2 separate regions of the Homo sapiens genome follow, and region 2 is linked to region 1. The links are contacts of gene promoters, found by promoter capture Hi-C in blood cells and fetal thymus (Javierre and others, 2016). All regions are on one chromosome and are shown on one strand. The core of a region is centred on a gene start or on the middle of the fragment in contact, and the rest is flanking DNA. Distances in the headings are between cores, read along the strand shown.

Region 1 (5,599 bases), core at 664-3,163:
AGCCACCGCACCCGGCCGTAAAGAGTTTTCTTAATCTGATTATTGTTTTTTTTGGTCATGGGCCCTGTTGAAAGCCACTAAGTCCTATCAAAAGAAAAAAAAACCCCTTGACACAAAAAAATTCTGCCCACAATTTAGGATCCAAGTTAAGAATAAATATTCTACATTGCATGTGATAATTATGTCTGCTTTCGGACTCATAAAATAAGGAAATTACACTCAGATGCACGGAGAGAACTAGTCATATTTTCACTGTCTTACGGGGTAACCTGTCAAGAACTGTCAAATACAATTTTAGGGAGTCGGGATACTAATGAATCAAACACACACACACACACAAACAGCATCTCCAAGACTCCAGCACCCCCCTTTCCCAATTACTTACTGGTCAAGCCCAAAGGAAAAATAATTTTTTAAAAGGCTAGGCTGAGATGGAATGGGAAAAAGGATCACTGTGAGCACAGATGATGTCCCGGGACAAAAGCTCTGCCCAACACTGCCCAAGCTGACAGGCTCACTCACACTACCTTTCTCCTTATGCGTCTCTCAATACGCAGTCTCTGAACACTTAAAAAAATGTGAATTTTGCTCTGACCACATAAAGAAATCAGCACGATTGACACCAGCTCTAAAATAAGCAATTAATATATTCTAATCTAATGCTTAAGAAGAATGGAGAGCAGGCAACAGCTCCTCCAACTGGTTGGAGCAGATATCACTGGAAGCCCCCCAAGTATTAAGATTTTTAAACAACTTCAAGTTCTGGTGGGCACAGCCAAATACACTGCAGAAACTTTGGGACCAGCAGCCACGACACAACAGGTGAGAGAGGCAGCAGACATCATTGCACGATGGAGTGCACAACATTCAATGACAAACCCGAAAAGGTCTGGGGATATGGGAAAATACCATGCACACGGCCATCTCAGAGCCCCTGTCTTTCCAGTGGCAAAAGGTTCTGTTCCTTCGGAGGGGCGTGCCACTCCCCCTCTCCCTCACCCAGGGGACCACCACCCCAGGCACAGGAAGAACCGCGGCCCCTCCGCGGGCACATCTCAGCTGGGGAAGAAAACACAATGTCGCTCCTTATTTCTGCGTACAAAAGGACTTTGCGCCCTCCTCCTCGAACTGCCGCCCCGGCCACCTCCTAACTTGCAAGAAGGTGGGCAACGCGCCATATTCCAGCGTCCCCCAGTCTACCTGGGTAACAAGCCCACGCCACCCCGGCAGGAGGGAAGCTTCGGAGGTCGCCCAAAGAGCCAGCCTCCTCTCCCGCAGGAGACAGCGGCTCCCGCGCCCCAGCCCGGCCCCACCGCGCCGCCCGCCCGCCCGCCCGCGTACGAGAGCCGGGAAGGGCCGAGGGGGCGAGCCGAGAGCCGCGGCTCCGGTCCCGCGCAGCCCGCCCACCTCCCGCTCCCGGGCCCGGCGCACTCTCCCGCGCCTCCCGCTCCCGAGCTGCGGGAAGGCCGGGCCCCGGGTTCCACGGCGGGGAGAAGGCCGCGGCCCCGAGAGCCCCAGGCGGCGGAGGAGGCCGGAACCCTGGGGCTCTCGGGAGGGCAGCGCCTCCCTCCCGAGCCCGCCAGGACGCCTGGGGCCTAGTGCGGCCTGCGCATCCTCGGGGTGGCGGTTTGGCTGGGCCGGGCCGGGGCCCCCCGCCCGAGGCGGGCCGAATCCGGCGGGGGCCCAGGCCCAGAGCCGGGGGCGGCAGGGTGCCGGCTGCGGGGCGGGCCGGCCGGCCGGCGGGCGGGCGGCGTGTTGCGGCTGCGCCGGGGCTGAAATAGCTGGAGATTGCGCGGTAGGGCACTCACCTCAGAGCGGCTGCGCTACCGTGGGCCTGCGCCGTGGAGACTGCGACCGCGCCGGCTCCTCGCAGCCTCCTGCCACCAGCGGCAATGGCGAGCGCTGCCGCTTCTGCCGCCGCCGCCGCCGCCGAGGAGGGGGAGGGGAGGGAGAGGGCACGCACGCGACGCACGGCCCGGCTTCCCCGCCCGGCCGCCGCCATGATGAGGAGGTCGGCGCGGCTGTGCTGCGGGCAGGCAGCGGAGAGGGCTCGCGGCGAGGGCTCCAGCTTACCCCGCCGCCGCGTCGCGTGCACGGAGCGCTTCAGAGGTTTGGAGGGGGCCGGAACCTCAAAAGCAACTGGATGAGCACAACGCGGACGCCCCGGAGAAGCGGCGCAAGCGGGCCCAAAATGGTTGCTGATCAGACGAGTGGCATCTCTCGCCCCCCTACCGCGGGAATTGGGACCTCCAGACTGTGCCTGGGGGATCGGCAAGTGGTTCCCCTCTGGTTTTTTCGGCGCTGCCTTCCCGGTGGTATCCTCACTCTCTCTCTTTGAAATGACCTCTGCTTTCCTATCTCTAACTCTTCCCAGATATTTGAAAGCAAGTTTTTGTACAAAGCAACATATGAATGTATTCAGCCATTCGATCGTTCGGCGAACATTTCTAGGTGTCTCGTGCTGTGCCAGATATTGTTCTGAGTGCGCTGAAGATGCACCTGTTAGCAAGACAAAGTCCTGGCTCCCACGGAGCTTATTCGAAGCAATAGGGGCCCCCAAGCAGGTGCCTGAGAAGTAGGGAGGGGTGGACAGTGGGAAAACAACCTAACGGTGGAGACACACGAGGGGTCTTTTTTTACTTTTAGAAACGGGGGTGGGTGGTCACCCTATGTTGCCTAGGCTGGTCTCGAACTCCTGGGCCCAAGCGATCCTCCCGACTCAGCCTCCCAAAGTGCTGGTATTACAGGACACCATGCCCGGCAGAGGGGTCGTTTTTGTTGTTTTTTTAGTGTCGTCAGGAGACTCCCTCCATCAGAATTACTCAGGCTGATTGTTTTGAGTCCTGGGACCCAGTTGGTATCCAGAATCTTGGCTTGTTTGCCTAGGAACCTGCATTTTCACATCCCCATCTCCACACCCCTGGTGATTCTTATGCATATAATAATGTGAAAAGCATTGCATTGAAGAATTGCTAAAGGGTGTCAGAAAACGGATTAACAAAATCAGGAAGCTTTAATTTTCAAGATTCTATTAACCTCAAAATTCAACATATCCAAAAATTGAATGTCTTTTTCTCCAGTGTTTTCTAGGAGAGTGCCAACACTAGCCACCCAAGTGCTCAAGCCAGAAACCTGGAAATGATCCATTACTCTTTCCTCTGTCTCTGGAGTCCCCATGTTAAATTAGATGTGTTTGTTTGTGAGACAGATTCTCACTCTATTACCTAGGCTGGAGGGCAGTGGTGCAATCATTGTTCACTGCAGCCTCGACCTCTCTGGGCTCAAGGATCCTCCCACCTCAGCCTCCCCAGTAGCTGGGACTACAGGTCCCCACCACCACGCCCGGCTAATTTTTGTATTTTTAGTAGAGATGAGGTTTCATCTTGTTGGCCCGGGCTGGTCTCGAACTCCTAGGCTCAAGTGATCTGCCTGCCTTAACCTCCCAAAGTGCTGGGATTACAGCCGTGAGCCACTGCACCCAGCCCCAATTAGATTTTTAAAACTGTTGTTCCCTGTCAGTTCTTACTCTGGTTCAGGCTACTGTCATCTCTCCTAGAGACACTGCGGTAGACTCCTCTTGGTCTCCCTGCCACCGAAATTGCCCTCTCCAAATCCACTACAGCTTGAATGGTCTTTCAAGAAAGAAAATCATGTTTTTTCCCTGTTTAAGACTCTTAAAAAGATCTGATTAACACGTAGGATAAAGTCTAAAATTCTTTGAGGTGGCTACAGGGCCATTGGTGATCTCATCCCTGTTGCCATCTCTGACCTCATCTGCCACAGATATTTCTCAGGCTACACTCAAAACTGGGAAGCTCTCAGGTCATTTAAGCCTGGAAATTGTGCCACCTCACAACTGTTGCAAGGGCTGTTCCCTTTGCCCATAACTTCATTTCTCTCTACACCATCTATGCACTTACTTGAATCCTCACCTGAATAATTCTTACCATTCTTTCAGATCCCAACATTAATACCATCGCCTCCAGGCAGCATTTTTTCATCTCCCAAGATTGGGTGCATTAGACCCTTTGTCATCACACCCAGTACTCCCCACGTTTATTGAGCGCTCACGATGCGTCAGGCCCTAGTGGAAGCCTTTATGCACATTATCTTCTTTCTCATTTAATTATCAAGTAGAGCCCACAAGGTAGGTACTACCTTTTTTTTAACTTTTGAGACAGGGTCTCACTGTATCTCCCAGACTGGAATACAGTGGCGCAAACACAGCTCACTGCAGTCTCATCCTGGGCTCAAGCAATCCTCCCATCTCAGCCTCCTGAGTAGCTGGGACCACAGGCAGATGCCTGTTGCCCAGGCTGGTCTCCAACTCCTGGGCTCAAGCCGTTCTACCTTAGCCTCCTAAAGTGCAGGGATTACAGGTGTGCAACTGTGCCCGGCCTGGGTAGTTACTAATATTATCCCATTTTACAGATGAAGAAACAAGGACATATAGGGGTTACTTGCCCAAACCCAGACAATAAGCTAGATCTGAAAGTCATCAGCCTGACCTCAGAGTTGTACTTTTAACCATTATCAGGGTCTCAGGCCAGTACCCACTGATGAAACACATAAGTAACTTAGTGGGTCATTACCAACATTTCATTAAAGAAATAGAAAATGGCAGAGAACATCAAACTTAGTAAGGCTCTTGTTTCGTGAAACTTGTCAGATTCTCTAATATGATAAATACTAAATCTTACAAACATTGAAAATACAAAATTAAACAAAATATTACCAAGGTTAACACAAAAGTATGAATACTGCAGATCTGATTTATTTTACTATCCTCATCTTTAATGCAGAACCTTCTTAGGATTAAATGACATTTACCATTCTGAGCAAACTGAGGTTACTGCCCCAAACGGACTGGGCTTACCTTTGCAGGAGAACAGGGGAGGCTGTGTTTTGGCTGGAGATTTTTGGCTAAGAGTCAAGACACAGAGATTCTTCTGCTACCACTGTGAACACATCAAGTCCCTTTCACATAGATGCTGTTTCCACAAGGGTCTCCCCACACCCTTCCCTACAGATTAGATTCCCGTGATGCCTTATTTAATTCTTGTTGGATCTGTTGATTTGGTTATGAAGTAGGTGAAATTCTGGTAACCTCACCCAGGTTCCTTCCCCTCTTGATTAGATCCAGCCAGTCTGTTCGCTGGATGATTAAATTTGGCATTCATTTTTCTGTGCTTTCCCTATCTGCTACTATCCTAAAGTCATTCTAATGACCAAAAAAGGTGCCTTGAGCCAGACTGTAGAGGGTTCTAATGGCCTCCTTAGAAATTGTGTTTTTTTGTTTTTTTTTTGAGATGAGGTTTCGCTCTTGTTGCCCAGGTTGGAGTGCAATGGTGCGATCTTGGCTCACTGCAACCTCCGCCTCCCGGGTTCAAGCGATTCTCCTGCCTCAGCCTCTCAAATAGCTGGGACTACAGGCATGCGCCACCACGCCCGGCTAATTTTGTGTTTTTAGTAGAGACGGGGTTTCACCATGTTGCCCAGGCTGGTCTCGAACCCCTGACCTCAGGTGACCCACCCACCTCGGCCTCCCAAAGTGCTGGGATTACAGGCCTGAGCCACCATGCCTGCCAAGGAACTGGTT
Region 2 (6,083 bases), core at 3,081-5,580, 240 kb after region 1:
ATCTTAAGAATTAGGCAGTATTATTCTCACTTGACAAAGCAGGAAAGTTTAACTCTAAGAGAACAAATGATTTGTCCAAGGTCTCACAGCAAGTAAGTGATGGGACTGGAATTTGAGCCTGTGTTTATGCTAGAGCCAAAGCTCCATCTACTATACCATGCCTCATAATATTAATCAGAAGACCAAAGGTCCTAGTCCTAGGTGTACTAGCCTCAAATCATTCCTTTTATCTTTAAATTTATTTAATTTAAAATTACTCTTTAAATTCATTTTCGTATCAGATTACATCTTAGAAATGACATCATCCCGGATAATCTTGGGGCCCTGATCAAGTCACAATTCTAAAACACCTAATTATATAAGAATTAGAACTCTAACAGCTCTTTAAGGCAACTTTGCCCAATGTCACTACCAGAAATGGAAACAGAAATTAATTGAACTCAAATATGAATATTCACCATCACCCACAGCAATTCTGATCTCTTACTCATAATTTCACAAAGTGAGACAGATCATTTGCTTGCTTGATGAATCTCTCAACTTTTGCTCCTCCTAACAAGAATGTTCACCCCAGTCCGCATGTACTAAGCTGGTTCCCCTTTCCCTCACTCAGGTAAAAAGGAGCTCCTTGGTCCAATGACTTAAGTCAGATAACTTGAGCCAGAAGGACTGGCATATCTATACCAAATAGAACCAGAAGACATTTTAGGAGACAGGAAAAGCCTTACCACTTAACAAGTTTTGTCTGTTTGTTTGTTTTGGTTTTTTTTTTTGAGACTGAGTCTTGGTCTGTCACCCAGGCTGGAGTGCAGTGGCGCGATCTCGGCTCACTGCAACCTCCACCTCCCGGGGTCAAGTGATTCTCCTGCCTCAGTCTCCCGAGTAGCTGGGACTACAGGCGCATGCCACCACGCCTGGCTAGTTTTTTTGCTTTTTTGTTTTGTTTTGTTTTTTTTAGTAGAGACAGGGTTTCTACTAAAAAAAAACTTAAAAAGTTCCATCACTTACTTCGTGTTAGCCAGGCTGGTCTCGATCTCCTGACCTCGTGATCCGCCCACCTCGGCCTCCCAAAGTGCTGGGATTACAGGCGTGAGCCGCCGCACACAGCCAATAAGTTTTTATAGAACACAGTAACTTTCAAATTTTAGCTGCATCAAAATCACCTGGAGAGCTTATTAAAGCACATTGCTGGATCTTAACCACCAGAGTTTTTGAATTATTAGGTCTGGAGAGGGCCCAAGATTTTGTATTTTGTAATTTAAAAAAAAAAATTTTTTTCAGCTTCCAATTCTCTGGTTGAAGATTTTGTGTTTTGAGTAACTCCCCGGGAGACGCTGATGCTACCAGTCTGAAGACCACACTTTGGAAACCACTGCTCTAACACTTTCTCCAAGCGTGAGTAAAGCAGCCCTGATTCTCTTGACTCTACTTAACCAACCATTCTATCCTATCATGGCTATAACCATGGAGGCACGTTCACAGGCAGAAAAGTAAAGGTTATTTGAAAGGTCAGAGAATACAATGAGGTGATCCTTTCTTTTCTTTCTTTTTTTTGGGGGGATGGTGTTTTGCTCTTGTCTCCCAGGCTGGGGTGCAATGGTGCCATCTCGGCTCACTGCAACCTCCACCTCTCAGAGTTCAAGTGATTCTCTTGCCTCAGCCTCCTGAGTAGCTGCGATTACAGGAGCACACCAACCATGCCTGGCTTATTTTTTTTTGTACTTTTTAGTAGAGATGGGGTTTCGCCATGTTGGGCAGGCTGGTCTCGAACTCCTGACCTCAGGTGATCCATCCACCTTGGCCTCCCAAAGTGCTGGGATTACAGGCATGAGGCACCACGCCCAGCTGAGGTGATCTTTCTTTACACCCAAAACAGGGTCTAAAGAAAACTGGGTCTAATTCTGCTTTCCGTAACTTAAGGCTCTTAAGAAGAGACAGGTAATATATTAAGAAAAACAGGACTCATGGGGAGGACAGAAGATCTATTTATCCTAAAGAGGATCAAGGCCAAGAGAAACCAATTAATTCCTTTTCAAGTACATAAAGTAATACTACAAAGGATGTATCTGTGTCTCTACTTCCTAAGGTCTGTCATCATTTCTAAAATAGGGATAATCATATCTACTTTGCCTATTTAAAATGTATGCTGAGATAATAAGATGTGAGAGGGTTTTGAAAACTACATATTGATATGCAAGTCTAAAATATTAATATTTCTATTCTTTCAAATTAAGTGTTCTTAACCTATATTCCATGGATGTCTAGAACCCCCTACAACAGTATGCAAAATTTTGTGTTTTTAATATCCTGGGGAGAGAGCCCATAGTTTTCATCAGTTTTTCAAATGGCTTTCTGTTTTAAGCACCAATCCTGACCTAGAGTGATAGTCAAGCTACCTCTACCACCATTTATCAGACACTTTGGAGATTTTTGTCTCTACTTCCAAGTAGATATGGTTCAGATATTCCTCAAAACACCTCTCTCTTCCAAGCCAAATGAGCGGCTTGAACTAACTCTTTACCTATGAAAAGGATTACTTCTTGCCAAAAGAATATCGGGCATCAAGCTGGCTGGATACTCATGAAAGTCAATCAACCAGATTTCCTATGGAAAAGTACAGAGAGCTGGAGTGGGAGGAGGAGGAAATATTAAAATGTTGAAACACAGAAAAAGTTATTGCTGATCTCCATGCATGTCAGTCGAGGTTACTACCAGAAGGGACTAAAGATCTCTCAGGGGAAGTAAAACACATTAATAAAGACAGTCTTTAAAAGGAAGTGTTCCCCAACCTTTCAGCAGTAAAGCTGTCTGAACAGGGCTAAGAAAATCCTTCACATGAAAACAGCTGAGGAGCAGAGGCTCCAGGAGAAGTTTTCCAGTGATTGATGGAACGTAACCTTGAAAGTCTACCTCGTCAGTTCTTGAGATTGGGGTTCTTCAGGCTTCATCCCGGCTTATTTCCCTGCTGGAAATCAGAGATGTGAGTACTGTCAGCTGTTATATGTGGTGTGAGTCCTATTCTCTGAGGGATATGAAGTCCCTTTTTGCTGGTGATTTTTAACAAAAGGGAGATGTTGTAATATACCTTCTCTGCTAAATTTTTCTCCTGAAAGAAGATTTGAGAGACTTCTCATATTTCCTTTGGTGGCAGGGATAGTTTCAGTGGAAATTTCATTACACTAATATGTAAATGGGAACATGAGTAAGACACTCGTTAAAACTTTAAATTGAAACTTTGGCCCAACATGGGAGCTGGAGCAACGGTTTTTTTCTTGGGGATTAAAAGACACTTTAACATTTTACAAGTAAGGTCTGGAAATCCATCGGCAATACACTAGAGGGTGCTCAGAGGTTAGCTTTCTTGGCTAAGTGGCTATCAGTAGCAACCTAATGAAGTACTTTCAGACCAAGTCAGGAGTCAATGACTTACGTGGTATCTGAAAGAAAGCCTCAAAAGTCTTTGGCAAAGAAAAGCTAGCAAATGAGACAATCGTGTTATTGAAGACTAGCTCCTCCCTATTCCTTTTTATTGCTGTTCAAAATACTGAGCAAAGGTATTTTCCTGCTATTTAAGAGAGAATGGCTGAGAAATTCCTAAGTGAGAGTAATACCTTATTAAAAACAGAACAGAGCAGAGCTGTGCTTTTCTAAATTATTATTTTGTTTGTTTGTTTTGAGACGGAGTCTCACCCTGTCGCCCAGGCTGGAGTGCAGTGGCGCGATCTCAGCTCACTGTAAGCTCTGCCTCCCGGGTTCATGCTATTCTCCTGCCTCAGCCTCCAGAGTAGCTGGGACTATAGGCGCCCGCCACCACGCCCGGCTAATTTTTTGTATTTTTAGTAGAGACCGGGTTTCACTGTGTTAGCCAGGATGATCTTGATCTCCTGACCTCGTGATCTGCCCGCCCTGGCCTCCCCCAAAGTGCTGGGATTACAGGCGTGAGCCACCGCACCCGGCTGCAAATTTTTTTATTTATTTTTTACCAACCAAGACACAACACTAAAGAGCTGTGTTTTATTAAATAAAGAGTGTTTTCTAAAAGCTGGGAAGCCCTAGATCATATCCCTTATGCAGTGGTCACACCAACTCCTTTAGGGCAGTCTTCCCATTCACATTAACTAGAAAGAAGGTAAATGGGTGAAAGTTCAGCAGGAGCCACTACTGAACTTTGAGGGGATGTGCTAAGCTTGTAAGACGGTGAGGACTATGACAGAAATAAGAATTATTATAAAACTTTGATTGATTCTGAGTTGGCACACTAATGTTCAGTAGAATTCTTCTGTAATATTCCTTTATAGAAATACCAAAGTTTGATACCTTAACGTGGCCCTTCCCTTAAGAAAACCAAATTTCTTTTTCCCTCTTCTTGTTATTAGTGAGTAGCAAGAAATTCAAAAAAACTCAACCCAATCAGAAGTATTACATAAATCCTTCCATTAATTCTAAAACACTATGTTACTTGGAATAAGCTTGTAGATGGATAGGTTTTCTTTCCACAAAATGTTTTAAAATTGAACACAAGACTGAGCGTGGTGGCTCACACCTGTAATCCCAGCACTGTGGGAGGCCGAGTTGGGTGGATCACCTACGGTCAGGAGTTCAAGACCAGCCTGGCCAACATGGTGAAACCCCATCTCCACCAAAAATACAAAAATTACCCGGTATGGTGGTGCACACCTGTAATCCCAGCTACTTGGGAGGCTGAGACAGGAGAATCACTTGAACCCAGGAAGCGGAGGTTGCAGTGAGCTGAGATCACGCCACTGCACTCCAGCCTGGACAACAGAGCCAGACTCCATTTCAAAAAAAAAAAAAAAAAAAACCTGAACACAATGTTCTGAAACGACATTAAGAAGAACAGCAATAACCTCCCCCAAAACAATAAAAAATAGTTGTAACAATGAGTTGAAATGTAAGTTCCTCAGGGGGCCTTTGTTAGGCCTACTATATATTCTATCTCATTATCAATAGTTATTTCTTCAAATCCATAATTCTATAAACACTAAAAAGAACTTGAAATATGTTTTAGAGAGTCTAACTAGTTTTCCATAGTGGGGAAACACAAATCTGTAAACATAAACCTGTGTGGGCTGTAAGAAATCAGGCTAAATCTAGAAGAAACTATTTAGAAACATAAGGATGGTTATTGTCTTTAAAAGTTGAAATTCGATCCAATATAATAGGTTTATATGCTAGTTCTTATCAACAAATAAGTCCTTATTATCATTTTAGTAAAACTACTGATCAGGCAAACATGGTATTCTGAAGAACTGTACCAAGAGAGCTGCAGTTCCTGCCATAGAGAAATATATATATAAAGGATAGCTGGGGGGGAAATAGGGAAATGTTGTGACTGAAGGGAAAAATACGGGCAGGGAGGGGAGAAATGTTTGCAATCTTTGCAGACTTCAGAGAGCACCATTTCTGTAAGTTCTGTTTTTGTTTTTTCTCCTCATTGTTCTTTTTCTTTACCCCCAGAGAAACAAATGAAGCATCAGGTTGAAAACAGAAGTGCAAAACAGTCACAGGAAACACAACCCATACATCACACCAGCAGCCGGAGGAAAGCCCCTGCCCACCAGAGATGACCAGGCAACAAGCCCTGGCCAGGCAACTCTCACACCTTTCCCAGCTTCGTGGATAATTAAGAAACAGTGGTGACCTAGTACCTAGGAACTAATCAGAACGTAGAGTAATAACTGTTTTTCCAACCACGGATCTTGGTAGGAGCTTCTCAGAGGTGATCCTTGTCACCCGTCAGAAATGGTTGCCTCTCATTATCAAGAAACAGAAGGAGAAACAAAACGACCAGTGAACTCACCATCCACTCAGGCATGTGAAAAGCTGAGGTGCCCTCATTACCGTCCCACTTCTCCATAGTGCAGGCTTGGGTAAGATATGTCCTGAAGCAAAAGGGAAAGCTGGTTTGGAAATACTGGGGTTATCTGAGTGCCCCAAAGCAGACCCAACCCTAGTGAGATTCAGAAGTTCACAGTGGCTAGCAGAAGCTGCATCCCTTTTCACAGCAGCCTCCGATTCAAATCAAGAGCATTAGTCAACTGCCTGACAACCCCTTACTGGCC

The links. Contacts are between HindIII fragments. The CHiCAGO score rates a contact against its expected background, and 5 or more counts as called.
Region 2: a contact is called between a fragment that was not itself captured here and the fragment with the promoter of NRF1 in region 1, in 3 of 17 cell types (endothelial precursors, megakaryocytes and erythroblasts). The highest score is 6.5, in endothelial precursors.

Annotation. Positions count from the first base shown.
Region 1 is chr7:129,608,034-129,613,632 of GRCh38, reverse strand. NRF1 (nuclear respiratory factor 1) reads right to left here and starts at 1,913. Exons shown (of 11, transcript NM_005011.5): 1 at 1,809-1,913. RefSeq lists enhancers at 626-765, 2,446-2,495 and a silencer at 1,066-2,055. The HindIII fragment of the contact is 1,773 bases long and covers 1,241-3,013 here.
Region 2 is chr7:129,368,290-129,374,372 of GRCh38, reverse strand. The region is part of intron 1 of AHCYL2 (adenosylhomocysteinase like 2); the gene reads right to left. LOC107986847 (a long non-coding RNA gene) reads left to right here. Exons shown (of 3, transcript XR_007060518.1): 2 at 1,282-2,980; 3 at 5,479-6,083. Among named protein-coding and RNA genes, the nearest start is that of STRIP2, 63 kb to the left of the region's middle. The HindIII fragment of the contact is 283 bases long and covers 4,189-4,471 here.